3 separate regions of the Homo sapiens genome follow, and regions 1 and 3 are each linked to region 2. Evidence: promoter capture Hi-C in 16 types of primary human blood cells and fetal thymus (Javierre and others, 2016). All regions are on one chromosome and are shown on one strand. The core of a region is centred on a gene start or on the middle of the fragment in contact, and the rest is flanking DNA. Distances in the headings are between cores, read along the strand shown. Region 1 overlaps ZDHHC14 (zDHHC palmitoyltransferase 14). Region 2 holds the start of SNX9-AS1 (SNX9 antisense RNA 1). Region 3 overlaps ZDHHC14 (zDHHC palmitoyltransferase 14).

The links. Contacts are between HindIII fragments. The CHiCAGO score rates a contact against its expected background, and 5 or more counts as called.
Region 1: a fragment that was not itself captured here is called in contact with the fragment with the promoter of SNX9-AS1 in region 2 in 1 of 17 cell types (activated CD4 T cells); the score reaches 5.9 in activated CD4 T cells.
Region 3: a fragment that was not itself captured here is called in contact with the fragment with the promoter of SNX9-AS1 in region 2 in 1 of 17 cell types (activated CD4 T cells); the score reaches 6.0 in activated CD4 T cells.

Annotation. Positions count from the first base shown.
Region 1 is chr6:157,659,440-157,663,171 of GRCh38, reverse strand. The region is part of intron 8 of ZDHHC14 (zDHHC palmitoyltransferase 14); the gene reads right to left. Among named protein-coding and RNA genes, the nearest start is that of MIR3692, 130 kb to the right of the region's middle. The HindIII fragment of the contact is 545 bases long and covers 1,618-2,162 here.
Region 2 is chr6:157,890,226-157,894,227 of GRCh38, reverse strand. It overlaps SNX9-AS1 (SNX9 antisense RNA 1), which reads left to right and starts at 1,346. Exons shown (of 2, transcript NR_183542.1): 1 at 1,346-1,535. All of the region lies in intron 4 of SNX9 (sorting nexin 9), which reads right to left. The HindIII fragment of the contact is 5,913 bases long and covers 1-2,249 here.
Region 3 is chr6:157,678,010-157,681,977 of GRCh38, reverse strand. It overlaps ZDHHC14 (zDHHC palmitoyltransferase 14), which reads right to left. Exons shown (of 9, transcript NM_024630.3): 9 at 3,821-3,968. Among named protein-coding and RNA genes, the nearest start is that of SNX9, 140 kb to the left of the region's middle. The HindIII fragment of the contact is 1,643 bases long and covers 1,355-2,997 here.

The DNA.
Region 1 (3,732 bases), core at 641-3,140, 230 kb after region 2:
CTTCTTCCAGAAGCAACCTGGGTTTCTCACAGCAAAGGCAGTGTAGGGAGGGCATGGGACTCCAAGCTAATTAGACTTTTAAATTTATCCATCTATGAGCAACTTACTTTGTAATTGGTAATGATTTCCATGTAATCATATGTGTGCTTGGGGATTCTGATGAAGTAAGAAAAACCCAACCTACAAATCATTTCTAAACTGTCATAAAATTTTCATGAGTGCTAAATTTAACAATTAATGAAGTTAACACATTCATGTGTCTCATAGACATTACACATTTATCAATTTTGATTTTGCAGTTTTCTTTTCATGTTTTAGAGCTTGTAATTTTTTTCCAGGTCTTAAAATTTTTTATAGTTCCTGGAAAAGTGCATAGGCACTTGCCTACAGTGTCTGATGGCTTGAATGTCCATGACATCTGTCTCTGGGTTCACAGATTAATTTCATCCCACCATGGCCATAACTTCAAGGAACCATGACATGTCACTACATCAAAGAGAACTCCTTCCCTCTAGCTCCTAGTTTTACATCCAGGGTGGAGGTCTTTGGAGATGTGGCAAAATTGGAGGACGGAAGGAATGAGGAAAAGAAGTTGGAACAAATTAATATTTGTTATGAGCCTCCTGTGTGCGAGCCCCTGTGAGGGGAATTTGCACATACATTCAACTGAACGTTTAAAAACCACCTCCAGGCTGGGCGCGGGGGCTCACGCCTGTAATCCCAGCACTTTGGGAGGCCAGGGCGAGCGGATTACTTGAGGTCAGGAGGTCAAGACCAGCCTGACCAACATGGTGAAACCCTGTCTGTACTAAAAATACAAAAATTAGCCAGGCATGATGGCGCGCACCTGTAATCCCAGCCATGTGGGGGTCTGAGGCAGGAGAATCGCTTGAACCCGGGAGGTCAAGAGTGCAGTGAGCAGAGATCGTGCTACCGCACTACAGCCTGGGCGACAGAGTGAGACTCTGTCTCAAAAAAATAATAAAATAAAATAAAGGGGTAAGTTAGAAAATGTATGTCTCAGTGCTCTGTAAATTGCAAAGCTCTATATAAATATAATTCTCTGTCTTTATTAATTTGCAATCTGGTGTGCCATGTCTGGGGACAATAACTCTTCCATTACTCCATGCACAAAGTTCTGATTTGGGGTCCTGGCTTATGCTTTTCCAAGATTATCAAAAATTAGCCAGGCATGGTGGTGCATGCCTGCAGTCCAGCTACCTGGGAGGCTGAGGCAGGAGAATTGCTTGAGCCCAGGAGGCAGATGTGGCAGTGAGCTAAGATTGCACCACTGCACTCCAGCCTGGGCGACACAGCGAGACTCCGTCTCAAAAAAATAAAACAAAAAAAGCTCCTCCAGTTTATTAGGTCATAAACTGGTAATGGCAAGAGGAAATAGAATCTCAGTCAATCCTCACTACAGGCCAGGGAGGTGAACCTCAGTATAACTTTCTTCATTTTACAGTTGAGGAATTTAAGGCTCTTGGGATTAAGTGACTTGCCCAAGATCACCCAGCCCCAAAGTGTCAGGGCCAGCAAAGGTCAGAGGCAGCCCAGGTGCTCTGACCCCACAGCTGTTCTCTGCCACTCCCCACTGCATAAGCTATTTGCAAAGCTTTTCCTTCCATCATCTTTCAGGATTATCTTATTCTGTTGTTCTTACTGGTGTCCAATTAGACCAAGAAGAAACTTCCCTTGAATTGGTGGGGACACAGCTGGCAGAGGTGGGCACAGAGAAAGGAAAATATAATGAATGCTGATTTCAAAAAATAATCTTCCAGCATGTAAGATGAAATTGGATTAGTATCTCAGATGACAAACATGAGTAAGTCTTACAGGTTTTTTACAGGCTAGCTGACAAAACAGATTCACGTCTCCACTGTTTCCAAGTGACTTTCTACCAACCAGACCATTTCTCCAACAACACAGGAAGCAAACCTTCCCTGAGTGTTCCATCCAGCTACCTGTTGGGCTGCTCCCCACCACCCCCAGGTATCCATGGGCACCCACATTCCACATGCCTAAGTCAACTTCCCCCAACTTGCACCCCCTCTTGAAACACCAGGACGTTTCGCCCCACACATGCCTGTGCTTTGTTGGCTTGAAACATCCCTTCCACCTTTGGGTGGCGAATTCTCAGATGTCGTCTCCTCCAGGAAGCTTTGCCTGAAACCTAAGTGCTCTTTGTCAAAGCTCCCCTGCCCCTCCCCCAACAGTCTGTCACATTCTAGCACATTCCGTTCAAATCCTCCATATACCCATTTCTCTGAATAGACCATGTATTACTTGAATGAAACTGACCTAAGGTTTTTCAAGATAAAAGAAACTTATTTGTGCCAAAGCAAATAATGGCTCAAAATCATTCCATTTAACCGAAACTTTTGGAGAGAACAAGAGAGTTTGAAGGCTGTGTCGATGGTTCTCAATAGTGGCTGCCAATTAAAGTCATCTCCAGGCCCATAGCACTGCCAAGGCCTGGCTGCCCACCCTAGGATTCTGACTTAACTGGATGCAGAGATCAGTATTGTGATTCTAATGAGTGTCCTGGGCTGAGGAGCGACAGATTGTAATAAATTATCCCTCAGCTCCTAGACATAGGGCCAGGTCTGAAGAGGGTCAGCTGGTTCCAGCTTGAGGGCTTTTCAGATGGAAATATGACATGTAATAGAAACCATCCGGGGCCAGGCGCAGTGGTTCATGCCTGTAATCCCAGCACTTTGGAAGGCCAAGGCAGGTGGATCTCCTGAGGTCAGGAGTTTGAGACCAGCCTGGCCAACATGGTGAAATGCCATCTCTACTAAAAATACAAAAATTAGCCTGACGTGGTGGTGCACACCTGCAATCCCAGCTGTTTGGGAGGCTGAGACAGGAGAATCGCTTGAACTCGGGAGGTGGAGGTTGCAGTGAGCCGAGACTGTGCCACTGCACTCCAGCCTGGGCGAAAAGAGTGAGACTCCGTCTAAAAAGAAAAAAAAAAAAAAAAGAAAAAAAGAAAGTAAGAAAGTACATGGGCCTGGCATCTCTAGCTGTGTGACTGTGAGCGAGTTACTCAACATATCCAAGTCTCAGTTTCATCCTTTGTAAAAGGAGGCTATCTTGCAGGTTGCTGTGGGGATTAAGTGAGGCAACTCTTGCAATGATAGTATCAATATTAGCAACGCTCTGTCCATTCTAAAGCGCTAAACCTCAGCAGAGACCCACCTATCCACAGCATGGTTCTAGAGCAAATAAACTTGGTGCCGTTCTTAGAATGGCTTGAAGTTCAGCTTGCGATTCTGACTAATTCAGCACTAACGGATTTGTGTATTTGTTTTCCCATCTGTCTAATTGGGGATTGGAACGCAAGAACTTTTTTATTGATTTTGAGCTCTAACTATATCCAAAACAGGAAATAAGTAGAAAGGAAGACGACGGATTGCTTGGCAACTTGCCAGACCACTTGCTCTTAGCGACGGTGCTGCAGGCTTTCCAAGGCGCAGAGGGTGGGTGCCCTGGATGTCTATCACTGCATCAGAGACCGGAAAACCGTTAGGGCTTCGGGACCCTTTCGGCCAGGCACTGCTGGTCATGATGTGCTGGCTTAGTCTGTGATGGTCTTTGTTGCCTGGGATGTCTGTTATTAGCAGCTGAAGCAAATCAAAGGAGAGGAATGTCACAGTGGCCCCAGAGAATTTGTACTGTTGTCAGTCTTGAAATATTTCAGCTCATTTGTCCGTGTTTTGACAATTCCTG
Region 2 (4,002 bases), core at 97-2,596:
TGAGGCAGGAGAATTGCTTGAATCCAGGAGGCGGAGATTGCAATGAGCTGAGATCACGCCACTGCACTCCAGACTGGGCGACACAGAGAGACTCTGTCTCAAAAAAAAAAAAAAAAAAAAAGAAAAGAAAAGCGAAAAGAAAAAGAAATGATACAGGGATCCAGCTGAACATCTTGTCCTCAGTCGGTCACCCTAATACCATTTCATGAACAATCCATCTTTCCCCCATGATTTGAAATGCCGCCTTCATCACATATCAGATTTGGGTCTATAGCTGGACTCTCTTGTTTCTTAGTGATCTATTTGTACTAGTACCACACTTTCATAGAAAAACCATCAATACTTTAGCATAACATCTCTTAGCTGTTTATTTTTATGTATAAACTTTAGCATCAGCTTAATATTTAAACTAAAACAATCTGAACTTTCACATTAGAATGTTGAGTTAAAATACTGATTTTCATTTGAATCACTGTTTACTGAATTCATAGAAAATTGATTAAAATTATTCATGCCTTTCACTCCACAATATTTCAGTACTGAATCTATTTCATAACATGAAATAGCAAGTCTTCCCCTTTATTTGAGTCTTATACACACACACACACACACACACACAAATGGTGCTAGTTAAAAAAAGAAAAAAATATAATTGCAAGAAAATTACCCACCCTGTCTAATATAGCCCCTAATGTTGTAGGACAGACACCCTAGTGGCTGGTCTGTTTTGACTCTTCACCAACCGACACATGGGGCAGACAGCTGGCTGTCACGTGCCAGGTGCATCAAAAACAGACTACATGCTTTTGATGTGCAAGTATGATGTCATTCTACTGCCCTATATACCTCTAAGGAAAAAACTGAAGTTACTTGTTATTTTACTCTATGTCAAATACTAACAGGAGAAAGATGTTTCATCCACAAGACTGTGACTTCTCAAACACACAGCTTTACAAGGTGACATTCGGCTTCGGGATGGACTCTCAGATGACCCCAGTGGACGCTGGAAATGAAGGCAATCATGCTGAGGGCCTGGCAGTCACACTTCAGCTAAGAGAAACCCTTCCTTCTACAGTTTTCTTTAAGGAAATGTAGTTTTATTCTCCTATTTAGCAATATATTCCGTGTCCTCCAAACTCTAAGTTACAAGTTTTTTCAAATAAGAACTTGAAAAAGTACCAAAGTTTGGGACACTAGGGACAGACTATCATTGGTACAGCAGCCTCAGCCTGGTTTCCATCAAGGACCGGCTGTGAAATGGAGGGGCTCGGAGGGCCACAGTCAAGAGCCTAGTGAGTTGGAATTCCGTTAACAGCTCTACCTCTCTTCCGCTGTGTAACCTCGGGCTAGAGTTCAGAAGTGAGTGGTCTGGATTCAGAAGACTGCCAGAAGCTAAGTGAGGTACATCACAAAGGAACACAGGACTGTGAGCTAGAACAGGAGAGTGAATGTTCGCTGGGGCCTTCCAGAAGACAGTTCAGTCTTAGCAAACTGGCCAGGAAGGATTTTCATCAAGATGGAGGAAAAACCTGGAGGTGAACTATTCATAGCAAGTGTCCTCAAAAAATTAAAATCCATTTAATTAGGGCAAAAACAAATAATTGTTCTTTGAAAATCACTTGGTCAATAATTTGTAGGTGTGTAGTAACTGTCATACTAGTTGGTTATGTATGTGATCTTAGCTCTCCACCTAAGTTATGAAATCTTTGTGGTTATGTTTGTTTCTATCTCTTTGGTTTTGTTTTTTTTTTTCCTGGAACGCTCTCTTTATCTTGTTTCAACCCAACTCCTGCTGATAACACATTTCTCAAAACCCTACCAACTGGAGATCTTTCCTGCAGCTTCCGTCACGGCCCTCGGACTCAGTCCCTCAGCAGATGGCCTTTTACTGCCCTGGCAGGTCCCTTCCCCTCTTAACTGTAACCAATCACTGGCTTTCTCTCTGAACCCATCCTTCCCATACGTCGATCTCTGCCTTCTTCACTCTCAACTCCCAAATCCCCTTGGTAGTTCCCTAACTACAGACACCTCGTCACGGTAAAACCTATTCAGCTCCTGGGCTGAGGTTTCCATCCTGTGGCGCCTCTCTGTCCTTTCCTTCCACCTTTCCCTCCTCTTCCTTTCTACTGAGCAGCATCTTCATCCTCTTTCTCTTCCCACTCCTTATTTTGCAAAGCTCTTAACTGTCCATCATGGGTAATTAAAATCCCTTCATTAGCACTCACTGCCCCTAGAGTCACCTCCAAGCTTCCTGTGGCTCAATCAGGAGTTTCTTCAGCACAGGTCTCAACTTTGCCTCGTGCTGCATTCCCCATTCTCCCTACCTGCCACTAACCTTCACTCTGAAGCTTCAAACTTCACACATTTCCCCAAACTTTTCTACATCTCTGCTGTTCCTCACACTATACTGTACTCTTATCTGCACACCTCATCTTCCTCAATTTAGCAAAGCCCTACCCCATCAGAAGGGCTCTGGCCTTCCCACAGCCTGCTGGCTGACATCCAGCCGCCTCCTTTCACTTTCTTCATTATTTGCAAATCAGATGGTCAGTCCCACCAGTGAATCACGGGGACAGCTCTGTCTTACCCGGAGAATGTTTCCCCCAAAAGATTCTCCAAATGCCTTGCATAAAGTGGCAAGGACTCAAATATTTTAAATGTGATGTTCTTGATCATTTGTATGAAATATATCTTACTCTTTGTCAGACCTCTAACCTTCATGACATGATCACCAAAAGGAGGAAATCAGATTTGCCTTATGTATACTAAGACTATGTATACTAAGACTTTGCCTTATGTATAAAAAGACTAAATTGAGTCTTTTTGAAAAAATTAACTTGTTGTGGTCGATCACAGAATAAGTGATTTTCAGCATGTGACTACAGAAAAAATGATTTTTGGCCAGGCGCAGCGGTTCACACTTGTAATCCCAACATTTTGGGAGGCTGAGGCAGGAGGATCACTTGAGGTCAGGAGTTTGAGACCAGCCTAGCCAACATGGTGAAACCCCATCTCTATTAAAAATACAAAAAGCCGGGTGTGGTGGCAGGAGCCTATAATCCCAGCTACTTGGGAGGCTGAAGCAGGAGAATCGCTTGAACCTGGAAGGCGGAGGTTGCAGTGAGCCGAGTTCACACCACTACACTCCAGCCTGGGTGACAGAGTGAGACTCTGTCTCAAAAAAAAAAAAAAAAAAAAAAGAGAAAGAAAAAAGAATTTTTAGCATGTGACACTATGAGTACCCTTAAAATAACAGTGTCTGAGTTCTGAAAGTGGATGATACAGACAGGCACAGGAGATGGAGGAATGGGCAAATATGAGAGAAAGCAAGAGCAGTAAAATGGGAATGGTAAAATCTAGAAGGTGGGTATATGATTATTCACTATGAAATTCGTTTAACTCTTCTATGCTTGAAATTTTAACAAACATTGGAAAATGCAACAAACAAAATCGACATATACAATCACTCTCGTCTGAGCTCCATTAGAAGGACACAGAGAAGGGCTGTGTCCATCAGGGTAACCTGCCATCTCCTGCTGCCCGTGAACGTGGGGCCCTGGGTAAACGCTTTGTAAATTAAGTATCTGTTGAATGAATACACTCCTACAGCATGTCTGGTTGGGTCTCTGGGACACGCTTAAATCTATGTAATCACCACAGGTAGATGATTATGTCCGACTCTCTTCCTAACTCCCACCCCAGCTAAATCAAATGCCCCTTTAGGCCCAGGAGCAATATACTAACAATTTGCTGGTTTAACGTTCTAAATTTAAAAGCTATCCTCTCCTCATAATGCAAATAGAGAAATATATTTATGCAGGCTTGACATTGGGAGACTTATTTAAACACATTCACTCAAAGGATTTACAGCATTAGCTAAATTTCTTCAGAAAGTAGACTGGCTTGTACCTGACTGCAGAGCCACTGGACCACAGAACAGACTGAGAATGGCCACGAGGGGTGGGGGAGACGGACACGCACACCCATGGTGGTGCTGTGTGG
Region 3 (3,968 bases), core at 927-3,426, 210 kb after region 2:
TGGAATTACAGGCGTGAGCCACTGCGCCCAGCCAGATAATATATTTTTGAAAGTTCCACTATTCTGTTTTTCTATTAGAATTACATGAAATCTTAATTGCCTTAAGACCCCAATTTTATCCCAAATTATCCACAAGAAGAGACAGGGAGTGTCAGATGGCTTGCAAAGGTGAGTGAGGAGGTCTCATAGCACCGGGTAGCACTGGCTCCTGGCTCAGCTGAACTCCACACAGGGACTCACGTCACAGCAGCAGCCTTCCCTCACAGTTGGACATAGAGGGGAGTATAAGGGAGGGGGGCTTTTCTCTGAGGCCCTCAGGTGTCAGCATGAGGTCCCTGGGGGAGTTTGGGTCCTCAATGCCTTAGACGTTGTCTCTGTTACCCTCGTCACCTCCACCTCCCCCTGAGGTCCCTGGCGGAGTTTGGGTCCTCAATGCCTTAGAGGCTGTTTCTGTTACCCTCATCGCCTCTTCCTCCCCCTTCTCGAGCACTGACGATCCCCGGTGGTGCAGAAGCCTGCCTGGCACTGTGCCACAGCAAAAACCCTGGAGCCATCACGGTGCTTTCAGGCGTTACTGGGAGACAGGACATTCACATGAAGACAGAAACTACAGTAGGTGGTCTAGAAAAAGGATGAAATGTGTGAGGGAAATGTTCTGGGTTAGTGGTGATGTCTGCACAACCTTGCGACTATACTAAAAACACGGAATTGTACATTTTTAAAGGGCTAATCTCATGGTATGTGAATTATATCTCAATTTTGAAGAAATATGTGACGGAGCAAGTATTTGAGGAATTCAGAGGAAAGGGGGCCCTCAACGCCTATGAAACGTGTTAGTAATGGGGAGGCAGGAAGGACTTAGACAAGCGGAGAGAGGCAGAGAGGGGCAGAGGGAGACGCGGAGGGTGGGAAGCGCCTGGTGGGTTCTGCCAGGGAGGGAGGAGGCTGAATTGCCAGAGAGGGAGACAGGGAGAAGGGAAAAGAAGAATGGAAACCATTTGGGGCCAGATTATGGAAGCTTTAGATGCTGGTCTGAGGGGCACATGGGGAAGAAAAAGCTGTGGATGATCTGACACCTGGGATCTGACATGGGCCTGGCGATGGCTGGGAAGACACGTGCCTGGGTTGTACGGGATGGGCAGGAACAGGAACATTTGGCAGGAGGAGAGCTCTTCGCAGCAATCCTAACATTTTGGGTTAGATGGTGAAGGTGGCGATAAAGTGAAGAAGAAGGAAAGATTTTGTGGATCCTGTAGAGGAAGAGTGACAGGGCTTGAGGCCCGATTGGATCTACAGAGTAAGGAAATCAAAGGCCTCTCCAGAGTTGTAAGCTTGGGGCTCTCCTGGGGAAGCTTCAACTAAAATAAAGGCCTGTTTGGGAAGAAAGATGTTGAATCCAATCTCAAGCATTTGGGTTTGGGGCAGTGATGGGATATGTAAGTGGGAACATGGAGCCAAGCATACCACAGCGAGCCCAGAAGCGGTCGCATTTGTGGCCAAGGAAAGTAAGGCCCATGGGCTCTGTGACCTGCCTGAGGTTACAGAACTAGCTGCAGGCAAGCTGGAGTCAGATTCCTGGCTAAATCTCCTTTTGTCTAGCAAGCAGCTGGTTCAGCTGTGGGGCTAATCCTTGGGAGGGTGATGGGTGCTGGAGAGTTGAGTCCACAGAAGAGGCAGGAGTAGAAGGCACTGGAGTGGTGAAGTCTCTGCAGGGGAATAGAGGAGACAGCAAAGGCCAAAGGGCAGGGAAACGAGCCTTGCCATGTGTCCTCATTTGTGGGATGTGAGAAGGAAGCAGATTGCAAGCAGATGTCAGCTGGAATAAAGACAGCAGTGTCACTGAGGCCAAAGGGAGAGAGCATTGCCCACAAGCATTAGAGATGCCCAACTGCATGCTTGTCTGCCTCCTGCAATACAGCCAGCTGCACGGATCCAGGGGCATGGGGTGCTCAACCATGTCAGATGCTTCAGGGATGTTAAAGAGAATGCAGCCAGGCCACAGGATTTGCCACTGGAGATCATGGAGAGTGCATTTCAGAAGCATGCAGTGAAGGGAAGCTGACAGAGAGTGGGAAGTGAGGAAATGGAAGACCGGAGGGCAAGCCACTCTTGAGACATTTGGCAATGAGAAGAATGAGCGCTTAAAGATGAACAGAGAGACAAGCCAATGAGAGGAATGAGTGCTTAAAGATGAACAGAGAGACAAGCCAATGAGAGGAATGAGTGCTTGAAGATGAACAGAGAGACAAGCCAATGAGAGGAACGAGTGCTTGAAGATGAACAGAGAGACAAGCCAATGAGAGGAATGAGCACTTAAAGATGAATAGAGAGACAAGGAAGATGAGTTTTTTTTGTTGTTTTCAAAGTAGCAGTATGGTATGGTGGCCTACGGAAACAACTGGTGGGAAGAAACTGAAGATGCAAGAGATCATAAAAGAACTGGGTCCTGGGTCATGGAGGAGAGAAGGAGCTGAGTTCTGGGTCATAGAGGAGAGAAGGGGGTGGGTCCTGGGTCATGGAGGAGAGAAGGGTCTGGGTCCTGGGTCATGGAGGAGAGAAGGGGCTGGGTCCCGGGGTCATGGAGTAGAGAAGAGGCTGAATCCCAGGGTCATGGAGGAGAGAAGGGGCTGGGTCCCGTGTCATGGAGGAGAGAAGGGGCTGGGTCCCGTGTCATGGAGGAGAGAAGGGGCTGGGTCCTGGGTCACGGAGGAGAGAAGGGGCTGGGTCCTGGGTCATGCAGGAGATGGGGTCAAGCCTACTTTAGCAGGTAGGAATGCTCTCTAAAGGGAGAGAACAGTAGATGGATGAGGCAGAACTTTTTAGTGGGGAAGAGAAGGATGACAGAGCTCTAGCTGGAGGGTGTCACTCTTGCACTAATGGAGGAGATGGAATTTTCTATTGTGATTATCTAGTGAATGCTCATTTTCCCCTTCTTCCTGACCAACAGACCTCCAATATTATTTGGAGCAGGAATGTGCCCAGCTAAAACACCAAGCTTCCCACCCTCCTTTTTAGCCAGCAGTGGTTATGTGACTTAATTTCAATCATGGAAAAATCATAGATTGGGGTTTCTGGGAATGCTCTTTAAAGGGAGCAGTCATAAGTGTCTGTACCCATTTTGCTCCTCCCCGTTTCTCCTTCTTTCAGCTTACAATGCCACACAGACCTCCAGAATAGGTGGAGGGAACCAGGAGGAAAAGAAATTCATTTGAAAGTCTCTCTCTTTTGGAAAAGAATATGCTAGACTCATATGTACAGCTCATACGTACTTAATAGAAAACCTAAGGATATGGCTTTGATGGCTGGCACTGTAGCAGCTGTATTGTGACCATGAAGTGACCTTGAGGATGAGAGCCAGTGCTAAGAATGGCAGAACAGAGAGAAGGAAGCCAGGACATTGATGACACTGCAGAGCCACCACAATGTCCCGGGATTGCCTTACCTCTGCACTTGTTTTGCATACAGAAAAGACATTTCTTTTCCTAAGCTGCTGTGATTTGGGGATTTTGTTATGAGTAGCCAAGCACAGTTCCTCTCTGGTGAGGCTGGTGTGTGTGTGCCCACGCACGTGTGCATGTGTTAAAAGGTGGCATATAGAACATGCTGGATTAGGGACTTTAAATTTCTGCATTGCTCTAAAGTAGAATTGAAACTTGAGAACCACGTCTGAGGAAAGCAATCTGGGTATCTACGATCAGAAAACCCTCATCCTTATACAGATGGGTGTCCACAACGTGCATATTCACTGAGTGCAAGTCGATTCCTCCCTTCCCCACACATCTTGTTGACCAAGACGATATCTACCTTATAAAGGCTGAAATTTACATTTTATGCCATTAGCAGTTTTTATTGAAGGAGAAAAATTTTTTAATTCATCTCAGGTTTAAGATAAATTCTGCAAACATTGATTAAAACATGAAAGGCACTTAAATAAGCATACGTATCTCTGAAAACATGAAATGTTATGT